3 separate regions of the Homo sapiens genome follow, and all the other regions are linked to region 3. Evidence: promoter capture Hi-C in human tissues and cell types (Jung and others, 2019). All regions are on one chromosome and are shown on one strand. Each heading gives the region's core, a stretch centred on a gene start or on the middle of the fragment in contact. The rest is flanking DNA. Distances are from core to core; before and after follow the strand shown.

What was found. Contacts are between HindIII fragments. The study calls those that stand out against the background at their distance.
Region 1: a contact is called between a fragment that was not itself captured here and the fragment with the promoter of ISM2 in region 3, in 1 of the 25 tissues and cell types used here (bladder).
Region 2: a contact is called between a fragment that was not itself captured here and the fragment with the promoter of ISM2 in region 3, in 1 of the 25 tissues and cell types used here (bladder).

The regions. Positions count from the first base shown.
Region 1 is chr14:77,722,397-77,725,858 of GRCh38, forward strand. SNW1 (SNW domain containing 1) reads right to left here. Exons shown (of 14, transcript NM_012245.3): 11 at 785-881. Among named protein-coding and RNA genes, the nearest start is that of SLIRP, 16 kb to the left of the region's middle. The HindIII fragment of the contact is 6,691 bases long and covers 1-3,462 here.
Region 2 is chr14:77,301,691-77,305,333 of GRCh38, forward strand. POMT2 (protein O-mannosyltransferase 2) reads right to left here. Exons shown (of 21, transcript NM_013382.7): 4 at 3,002-3,110; 5 at 1,145-1,253. Among named protein-coding and RNA genes, the nearest start is that of POMT2, 17 kb to the right of the region's middle. RefSeq lists enhancers at 1,308-1,809, 1,810-2,309. The HindIII fragment of the contact is 6,861 bases long and covers 1-3,643 here.
Region 3 is chr14:77,496,549-77,500,276 of GRCh38, forward strand. It overlaps ISM2 (isthmin 2), which reads right to left and starts at 2,268. Exons shown (of 7, transcript NM_199296.3): 1 at 2,105-2,268. The coding sequence starts at 2,245. RefSeq lists silencers at 1,752-1,811, 1,852-2,061, 2,332-2,521 and an enhancer at 2,892-2,951. The HindIII fragment of the contact is 11,286 bases long and covers 1-3,728 here.

The DNA.
Region 1 (3,462 bases), core at 617-3,116, 230 kb after region 3:
CTGATTTTCTACTTCTTTCAAAACTGCTCTTCTCCTCAATTGTACTAGATGCAGTACTATGCATATAAAATGATCTCAATAAAAGCATGAAAGCTTATTTCCTGTCTAAAGAGGCACATAATCCATTTATCTCACCATTTGAGGTAGAAAAAGAACGGACTATAACAGTCCAAATTTACTACTACATCCTTTTCAAAAATCTGATCTCGATTCCGTTTTCTATATTCCCATCATTCTCAATTCTGACTTAAGTGATGGAAGATTAATTCCAAAGACAGTCAACTAGAGCTAAGACAAAGTAGTTAAGTACAAGAAAATTAAGTGCTAATTTATTAAGTTATCAAACTAAAGAAGAAAGGGAGAGAAGCAAAACTGATCTTAGTGGACTAAAACTCTGCTCTAAAAGGTACAAAAAGGCCACTCTTCATGATTGGTACATATCTTTTTTTTTTTTTTTTTTTTTTGTGAGATGGAGTCTCGCTCTGTCGCCCAGGCTGGAATGCAGTGGCGTGATCTCGGCTCACTGCAAGCTCCACCTCCCGGGTTCACGCCATTCTCCTGCCTCAGCCTGCCAAGTAGCTGGGACTACAGGCGCCTGCCACGACCATGCCCGGCTAATTTTTTGTACTTTTAGTAGACACAGGGTTTCATCGTGTTAGCCAGGATGGTCTCGATCTCCTGACCTCGTGATCCGCCCGCATTGGCCTCCCAAAGTGCTGGGATTACAGGGGTGAACCACTGCGCCCGGCCACCATGATTGGTACACATCTTAAATAACACCTACCTCTTATCAGGAGCTGCCCTGGAAAGATTCCGGTCATGCTGTCTCTCTTTTCGCCTGTCATGCCGGATTTCATCCCTCTCACGTGCCTCCCCATCCTCTGTGTGAACAGTTGAAAAGTACTTCACTGTAATATGTATTATATGTGTGCATACGTGTACACGTGTGTATATATATAATTTTTTAAAAAGAGACAGCATCTCACTCTGTCACCCAGGCTGGAGTGTAGTAGCATGAACATGGTTCACTGCAGCCACTACCTCCTGGATTCAAGTGATCCTCCTGCCTCATCCTCCCGAGTACCTGGGACCACAGATGTGTGCCACCATGCCTGGCTAATTTTTAAATTTTTTGTAAAGATGGGGTCCCACTTATGTTGTCGAGGCTGGTCTCAAACTCCAGGCTCTAGTGATCTTCCCACCTAGGCCTCCCAAAGTGCTGGAGTCACAGGTGTGAGCCACTGCACTCAGCCCCATTAGTATTTTGTTTGTTTTGAGACGGAGTTTCGCTCTTGCTGCCCAGGCTGGAATGCAGTGGCGCGATCTCAGCTCACCGCAACCTCTGCCTCCCGGGTTCAAGCGATTCTCCTGCCTCAGCCTCCCAAGTAGCTGGGATTACAGGTGTGCACCACCATGCCGGGCTAATTTTTTATTTTTAGTAGAGATGGAGTTTCACCAAGCTAGTCTCAAACTCCTGACCTCAAGTGATCTGCCGCACCCAGCCAATATTCTGAACAAGAGAATATTTTTTAACCTTAGAAAATTCCAAACTTCTTTGTAGTCACACTCAGCCTTTTAAACCTTACTTGCAATTAATTTAAGTCTAATAAATGATATTAGTTTAATTTTTGAATGTGAATTCTAGAATCAAGCATGCGGCTAAAATATTTAAGGGTAAAATGTATTGCTGTCTTCAACTTACTTTGAAATGCAATGCAGTAAATCGGACAGACAGATGGACAGAAAGATGGGCAAATATGTGATAAAGCAAATTTATCAATGTTAATTGCTTTTAAAATTTATTTTTGATATATAATCATTATACATATTTATGGGGTATATATATTTGATACATGAACAAAATGTGTAATAATCAAATCAGGGTAATTAGGATATCCATCACCTCAAACATTTGTTTGTGTTGGGAACATTCTAAATCTTCTAGCTATTTTGCAATATACAATAAATTATCATTAACTATTCTTCTCTTCTAGCTATTTTGCAATATACAATAAATTATCACTAACTATTCACCCCACTGTACTAGGAACATTAGAACTTACTCTTTCTAACTGTATTTCTGTACCATCAACCAATCTCTCTTCATTCCCTGTCCCCAACATCCTTCCCAACCACTGGTAACCACCATTCTACTCTCTGCTTCCTTGAGACCAACTTTTTTAGCTCCCACATACAAGTGGGAAGATTCAGTATTCGTTTTTCTGTGCCGGGCTTATTCACTTAATAACCTTCAGTTCCATCCATATTGTTGCAAATTACATGATTTCATTCTTTTTTATGGCTGAGTAATATCCCATTGTGTATATAGACCACATTTTCTTTATCCATTCACCCACTGGACACAACTTGATTCCGTATCTTGGTAACTGTAAAGAGCACTGCAATAAACATGGAAGTGCAGATATCCCTTTTTGATTTGATATACTGATTTCCTTTTGGATATATACCCAGCAGTGAATTGCTGGATCACGTAGTGGCTCTATTTTCAGTTTTTTGAAGAACTGCCATACTGTTTTCCATAGTGGCTGTACTAATTTATATTCTTACTAAAAATGTACTAGTGTTCCCCCCCTTCTGTATCCTCGCCAGCATCTATTATTGCCTTTTTAATGATAGCCATTTTAACTGGAGTGACATAATATCTCACTGTGGTTTTGATTTGAATTTCCCTGATGATTAGTGATGCTGAACATTTTTTCATACACCTGTTGGCCATAAGTATGTCTTCTTTTGAGACCGTCTATTCAGATCATTTGCCCATTTTAAAATCAGATTATCTCGTTTCTTTGCGATTGAGTTCTTGTACATTCTGGTTATTAATTCTTTCTTAAATGGATATTTTGCAACCATTTTCTTCCATTCTGTAGGTGGCCTCTTCAGTCTGTTGACTGCTGTGCAGAAGCTTTTCAGCTTGACGCAATCCCATTTGTCTATATTTGCTTTTGCTGTCTGTGCTTTTGAGATTTTACCCAAAAAATCTTTGTCCAGACCAATGTCCTGAAGCATGTCCCCAGTGTTTTCATCTAGCAGTTTCATAGTTCAGGCCTTACATTTAAGTCTTTAATCCATTTTGATTTGATTCTTGTATGTGATAAGAAATAAGAGGTCTATTTTCATTCTTTTGCATGTGACTATTCGGTTTTCACAGCATTATGTATTGAAGAGACTATCCTTTCCCCAATGTATGCTTTGGGCATCAGCGTTAAAAATCCACGCATTGGCTGGGCATGGTGGTGGTTCATGCCTGTAACGCACTTTGGGAGGCTGAGGCGGGTGGATCACTTGAGGCCAGGAGGTTGAGACCACCCTGGGTGTAATGGCAAAACCCTGTCTCTAAAATAACACAAAAATTAGCCAGGCGTGGTGGTGCGTGCCTTAGTCCCAGTTACTTGGGAGGCCAAGGTGGGAGGATAGCTTGAGTCTGAGAGGCGGAGGTTGCAG
Region 2 (3,643 bases), core at 923-3,422, 190 kb before region 3:
ATATATTAACTCTTCTAGCCGTCACTACAGCACACAGAGGATCCTGTCACTAGGTCCTCTTTTTGCACAGGAGGAAATCAAGATACAGAGAGGTGGAGTAATACAGCTAGCAGGCAGTGGGGCACAGTTTTAACCCAGGCAATTGGGTCAATGTTAGTGCTCTTAACCATTTTGCTATTCGTATAGCACCTAGTACTCTACACTATGATTCTCTGGCTCTCTGGCTGCCTCCTCTGCCAGAGTGAATATTCCTTAACAGCCAAGCCCAACAGAGCTCAGTACCTCCAGCTCCCCGCATAGTACCTGGTACACAGTATGTACTCAAGAAATGGTAGATGGAAGTGGATGTGGCATAAGCACAACAACCAAAGCCAGAGTGGGCTGAGAGTCACTGATCAGGTTTGATTAGCACAATGGAGCTTAATGAGCCTGGCTGTGCAAAGTTAACTTCCAGAAAAGCCTACGAGGGGCCAACTCTTCTGGTTTGAATAGAATGAATGACTTATTCTACTTTCTCAGAAGTAGAAGGATGATCTGGAAAAGACTATTCTGCAAGTAGACCGGACCCTCCAAGTCAGCTTTAGAACTGACCAGGACCTGGAAGGATCCTCTTGGCTGGTATGGACCATTCAAGCCAACCTTTACATATGCTATTCCCATCATTAGGTCAGGACTGGATGCAACCACTGACGAAAGGGAGATAGTTTCCAGGCAGCATCTACCCTGGTGCCCTCCCTTCTAGGACAGAGTATGTGAAGGACAGCCCTGTCCCGGGATTTCCTAACCAGCACTGGTTACAAGAGGTGGGTGGGGAAAGTATTAGGACCCCCCATGATATCCCAAAACCCCTACCCAATTGTACTCCATTGTAAACATGATAATAATAATACGCTTGAAAAAGACAACTGACATTTTCTCGGTCTTGAATATGGCAAAAATAAAATCACCTGTAGAAAACTTTTTAAAATCTATTTTTATGATCTAAAATGGACAATCTAAGTTAAAAAAACAAACAAAAAGTATGCTTGCCTTAAAATCAGCTTCAAGACAAGTCTCTGGGCACCCGCCCTGGCCCTGGCCATTACAGAAATTTTGGAGTTGCCACAGCTTCCAACCCTCCCCTCCCGGGGATGGAGTTTCTGACCTGTCGGCGCAAGAGTTGTACTTGACCATGCTCAGCATGGCAGCCATGATGAAGAACATCAGGATGGGGTCAAGGAGGATGTACTGGGACAGAGTGAGGCATCCCGTGTCTGAAAAACATGAGCTCGCTGGTGAAAAAGCGAGGTAAGAGAAGGGCCCCCTGAAAACCAAGCACCCCAGTAGTAGGAAACAGTCCCTCTTGCCACTTAATTGAGTGTAAGCACTTGTGCAGTCAGGACTAGAGTCAACACTGAGTCATCAGGGAGGTAGAAGGCCACAGCTCTGGGAGACATCAAAGCCCAATGACAAGAAGCAGTAACTCACACTGCCTCTAGGCCCTCAACCCAAGAGAGGATCATGTCATTCGCTCCCTCAGACCAGCCCTGAGACAAGGTGTCATCCTCATTTCCACCATCAAAAAGGGAGTCCTACCACTCTGCTCATGTAACCGCAAACTATCTACACCTATGATAGAATCTTATCATTTTACATGAAGTCTCTCTTGGGGGTCGATTCTCCAGACAGATGGCAGAGTGATGTTTTTTAATTTAAATCCTTAAATCTCATTATGTCATGCCCCTGCTTAAACCCTCCAATGTCTTCCAACCTCACTCAAAGTAAAAAGTTCTCATGACAACTGCCAGAGTCTGTGCGGTCTCCCTACCCATCTAACCTCATCTCCCAACACCCTCTGCCTCACTCACTCTGCCCTTTCCACGCCAGCCTTCTTACTGTGATTTGAACCCACAGAGGTCCACACCAGAACTACAGTACATGCACTTCCCTCTGCCTGAATGCTCTTCCCTCAGATCCCTGCAGGGCCTGATCCTTTGTCTCACTCAGGTCTCTGCTCAAAGCTCCCCTCTCAGAAGCTCTTTCCTGACTATCCTGTCTAAAATAGTACTGATCTCCATTATTCCATCCCTTACACTGCTTTATTTTCTACACTGCACTTGTGGCTTAGGACATCACATGACAGACTTATTCATTTACTTGTTTATTTACTGTCTGCCCCACGATGAGGTAAGCTCAATGAGACCAGAGTGACTCATCAGTGTATCCTCTCAGACTAAGAAAAGTGGCCGGGAGCTGGGTAGGTGCTTGAGAAATAACTATTGAATGAAAAGTACATAAATGACTAAATGAATGAATAACTGAAGATGGAAATTCAAGATACAAGGAAAAAGCCACCAGTCCTCTATAGAGAAAGCCAATAATCTTGCAATCTATCTGTCAAAACAAAGCAACATATCTGTCAAAGCAAACCCCTAAAGTACCCCATTTAAATTGGTCTAGACTTCTTTAAATGTTAAGCTCCACAAGGTCATGAATTCACTTTCATAGGAACAAAGCTAGCAACAGGATCAACTTCTACGATGAACTCTCATTTATCCATGTGAAGATTATTATCCAAGTTCCCATTTTGCTATCTCTTGCCACCCAGCTACTTCTGCATTTACCTTTATATTCAGTTGAAATTAGTTAAGGAATGCAAACTAATCTTAACTTAAGAGAAGCAAAATTAGAATTATAAGCTTCCTTCAAAAACACACATACTCACATACAAATCTATCTTATTACCCATTCCAAACTCAACCGTGAATAACGTGGAGGTAAATCTATTCCTTGGGATTACCCACGCCGATTCTCCCCTCCAATAATATAAAGGCTTGTTATATATAACTATTGATATACATTAAGTATTACTAGTGAATGAGATTTGTAGTACATTTTACCCAATCCTAAAATTAATTGAACTGGACCCACATATAGGGCCCTTGAATGTACTGATTTTCAGCTACATTCACGGAGTGGCAGCCCATTTCCCAAAAGCCATGGTATGGCTAAGACAACTTACCAAAGGTGAGGAGGGCAGCTGTGAGCAGTGCTGCCGAGAGGGACTTGGACAGATCCAGTACAGTGAGGTAGGCAAAGGGGACCAGCCAGGAGCCAAGGAATGCACAGAACTGTGGGAGGAATAGAGAAGCTGTCAAATAACAAGCTGAGCTAGGTCAGCGACCTACTGGACTCAGTACAACCTAACATTTAAGACAGGGGACCTGATGAAGGCATGACTTTGGTGACCTAAAGTCACCTAGGATATCTATAACTAAGAAAAGAGTATTGTAATAGTGAAGAGCCAAATCAAGCAATATATATGTTCCCATTAAGCAGCAACTTGTGCACTGACATGAAATCAGCAAGTTCAGCCAGGAAGGTGTGGGTAGGAGACAGGGAGAAAAGCAACCAAGTAGCTACACACCAGGAATAGAGAGAAGGGAAGAAAATGAGTGTTATTAACACACAGATAGTAATTGATAGCCATTAGCTTCTATTACACAACTGTAGGTACAAGTTGAGAAAGACCCCTCTGAAGGTATTTCAGAGAATTTTAAGGAACCCCTAGTTCTTTTCTTCATTTACACCAGAAACCAGTCTTTAATCTACACAATGTATGTATTTTGATTTTGGGAAAAGGGATTGCTTGATACTTCAGTAG
Region 3 (3,728 bases), core at 1,018-3,517:
CTAGGCAGGTGGATCATAAGGTCAGGAGTTCGAGACCAGCCAGTTCGAGACCAGCCTGGCCAACATGGTGAAACCCTGTCTTGACTAAAAATACAAAAATTAGCCGGGCGTGGTGGCGTGAGCCTGTGATCCCAGCTACTGGGGAGGCTAAGGCAGGAGAATTGCTTGAACCCGAGAGGCGGAGGTTGCAGTGAGCCAAGATTGTGCCACCGCATTCCAGCCTGGGTGACAGAGTGAGACTCCATCTCAGGAAAAAAAAAAAAAAAAAAAAAAAAAAAAAAAAAAAAATTCATGGGGAGTGGGGACAGGAAAAAAACCTAAAAGACTCCTTAAGGGGGCAGAAAAAAAGGTAGCAAAACTGGTCTACAGACACATCCTCAAGTGCAGCCAGTCTCCCCATTCCTTCCCACGGCCTTTGGAGGGTTTCAGCAGTCTGGACAAGTTCTGGCTCTCACTCTCTCACTCACTCACTCACAATCTCCCACACCCTGCATGCCTATATGGACCCTCAGTGTCGTCATCTCAAAAATGGGAAGAATGGCTGGGTGCAGTGGCTCACACCTGTAATCCCAGCACTTTGGGAGGCCGAGGCAGGTGGATCATGAGGTCAGGAGCTCAAGACCGGCCTGGCCAAGATGGTGAAACCCTGTCTCTACTAAAAATACAAAAATTAGCCAGGCGCGGTGGCAGGCGCCTGTTATCCCAGCTACTTGGGAGGCTGAGGCAGGAGAATAGCTTGAACTCGGGTGGCAGAAGTTGCAGTGAGCCAAGATCGTGCCACTGCACTCCAGCCTGGGCAACACAATGAGGCTCTGTCTCAAAAAAAAAAAAAAAAAAAAAGGAAGAAGAAGAATGGCTGGGCACCATGGCTCATGCCTGTAATACTGGCACTATGGGAGGCTGAGGCAGGAGGATTGCTTGAGGTCAGAAGTTCAAGACCAGCCTGGGACACACAGTGAGACCCCCCCATCTCTACAAAATAAAAAATAAAAAAAATTAGCCAGGTGTGGTGGTGCATGCCTGCGCTCCCAGGTACCCAGGAGGCTGAGGCTGGAGGATCGATTGAGTCCGGGAGGTTGAGGCTACAGTGAGCTATCATCACACCACCGCACTCCAGCCTGGGTGACAGAGAGAGATCCTGTCCCAAAAATAAAATAAAAGAGAGGGAGAAAGAAAAAGTAGGAAGGAAGGAGGGAGGGAGGGAGGGAGGGAGGGAGGGAGGGAAGGAAGGAAGGAAGGAAGGAAGGAAGGAAGGAAGGAAGGAAGGAAGGAAGGAAGGAAGGAAAAACGGCAAGATGGGAAGAGCTATTCGGGCCTCCTACAGCTTAGTACATGGAAGGACCCAGGACCCAAGACCTAAGACCACCTGCCACATAGGACTGCTCCTGCATACCCTAATACAAGTCTGGCTGTCTTTGTCCCCATGGGAATGAACGTCCGCTGCATTCCAGGGGGCAATAAGCTGGACTGTAGACCCCTCAGTGACTGGAAGACACAGGGTTTGACAGACCATGGCTTCTCTCCATGGCCAACACCACTCTTCCATCTCATTCCTGTTTTATACCCCAATGCCCACCCACAGGCCACGAGGACAGAGCCAGTCTCAGGCTGGCCACCCCTGCCGGCGGCTGGAGAGCCCCACTGTGCCTCCGCTTGTCTCATGGAAGGGGCTCACCTGACCGTTTGAACCTCAGCGGCCCTGGCCCGCCACTCCGCAAAGCGCCAGATTCCTCGCACCGGCGGGACTCCTCTCCGAGCTAGCGCGCACCTGGAAAGGGGGCTGCAGGCGAGGTCCGCTCAGGGCGAGGAAGCCCGGCCACCGTGGAGTGTCGGCCACCTCACTCCGCACAGAAGTCAAACTTGTCACCCGGCTGGTCCGCGGCAGCCCGGCTCGCGGTCACGCGCGAGGAGTGGAAGCCCCGAAGTCCGGCGCACCTGGGCAACGCCCGGTGTCCGGGAGCTTCCGGCCGGCCCCGGCCCCTCTCTCCATCGGGGGGTCGCTGCCTGTGTGTGTCCCGGTCCCGCTCCCCGCACGGCTGGAGCCGGCGGGCTGGGGAGGTGGGACCGACAGCGCGCTCCGCAGCCCGGTGCCGCCGCCACTCACCTCTGCGAGCCTCGTGAGGCTCCCAGGCCGTGGTCCGCGGAGCCGCGGCTTCTTCACGGGGAGCCCTAGCGCCGCCTCCAGCAGCGCCGCCAGCAGCAGCACGCAGAGGAGGAGCCCGGCTCGGTCGCGGAGCGCACGCATCGTCTCGGTTCCGAGGCTGCTCTGCCTGCACCTCTGCACGCGGCCGCGAACCCAGTCGCGCCCCGCCTCGCCTCCTCCGGGGGCGGGACCCGGCGATCCTGAGGGGCGCGCGGGGCACGGGGCCGCGCGGGGCGGGGGCGCGCAGCTCGCACAGCCTCTCTGGCCCCGGCTCCTCGCGTGGGCGCCCGCACAGCTCTAGGGTCCGCGCACCTGGACGTCCCCCACCCTCCTCCGAGGGGCCCCTCGGCGCTCCCCGACCCGTCTTGACCCTGTGGGCGGCTCTCTTTGATCTGGCCGCCTCCCCGCCCTCAGTCCCCGCCGCTGTCGCCGTCGCAGCCCCCAGCGAATTCCTGTTCGCGGGAAGCTGCGGCCCGGCGCGCTCCGGCCCTGCGCTGCGACTCCTGCGGGGCCCTGAGGGTCCGACGCCACCTCTGCCCTCCCCGACCGCGCTCCAACTGCGACCTGGACCGGCGGTGCCGCGCGGGCGAGGGAGGCGCAGCCCGACGGGAGAGTGGCGCGAGTCTTCGGATGCCGGGCAGATGTTTGGTTATGCCTCGAGGAAGGTTTGCTGGGGAGGAAGCCTAGAAGTAACTCCCCCAGGGCTCTTCCCAGTCTACTGCCGGAGGTGGAGACCAGAGCAGAGGCACAAGCCAGCACCTGCCATTCTGCACCCAGTGTCCTCGGAATGTTCTCAGAGCACTTTTAAAAACCGGAGAGTCGGCCGGTGGCTCACGCCTGTAATCCCAGCAGTTTGGGAGGCCGAGGCAGGAAGATCACTTGAGGTCAGGAGTTGAGACCAGCCTGGCCAACAAGGTGAAACCCCGTCTCTACTAAAAATACAAAAATTAGCCGGGCGTGGCAGCGCGCACCCGTAGTCCCAGCGGGTGGGAGCCCCGAGGTCCGGCGCACCTGGCCCACACACAGGTGGGAGAATCGCTTGCACCTGGGAGGCAGAGGCTGCAGTGAGCCGAGATTGCACTATTGCACTCCAACCTAGGCGACAGAGTGCGACCCTGTCTCAGAAAACAAAACAGGAGAAAGTTGAGACTCAGATGTGAGGATAAAGTCCCAGAAGGACAGCCGGGAGTCTGGTCGTCGCCTAGTTGTATCCTGGGTGAAACAGTGAAACTGCCCACTTCATCCAGTGGGACCCTTGGTGCAGGGATCCTCACGTAGGCCACGAGGGTCACCAAGATGGCCTGCCTCTGAGCAACCGACACAAAACCTTAGCTTGTGGCAAAGATCAGGAACTCTTGAGAGGCAGTGCCAATCTGGATGGGGCAGCTTGGGAATGTGAACGCAGTGACACCAGGTAGGGGGAGGGGTTGGGACAGGTCGGTGAGGAGCAGTCACAAGGCACTGGGGACATGCCCACCCAGGGGTCATAGCAGGGCGCACAAAGGATGACTCAAGTTTCAGGGCAGGGTTGGTGGATCCCCAGGGGTGGTAGAGAGGATGAAGAGCAAGCCCAGCTACTGGTGTA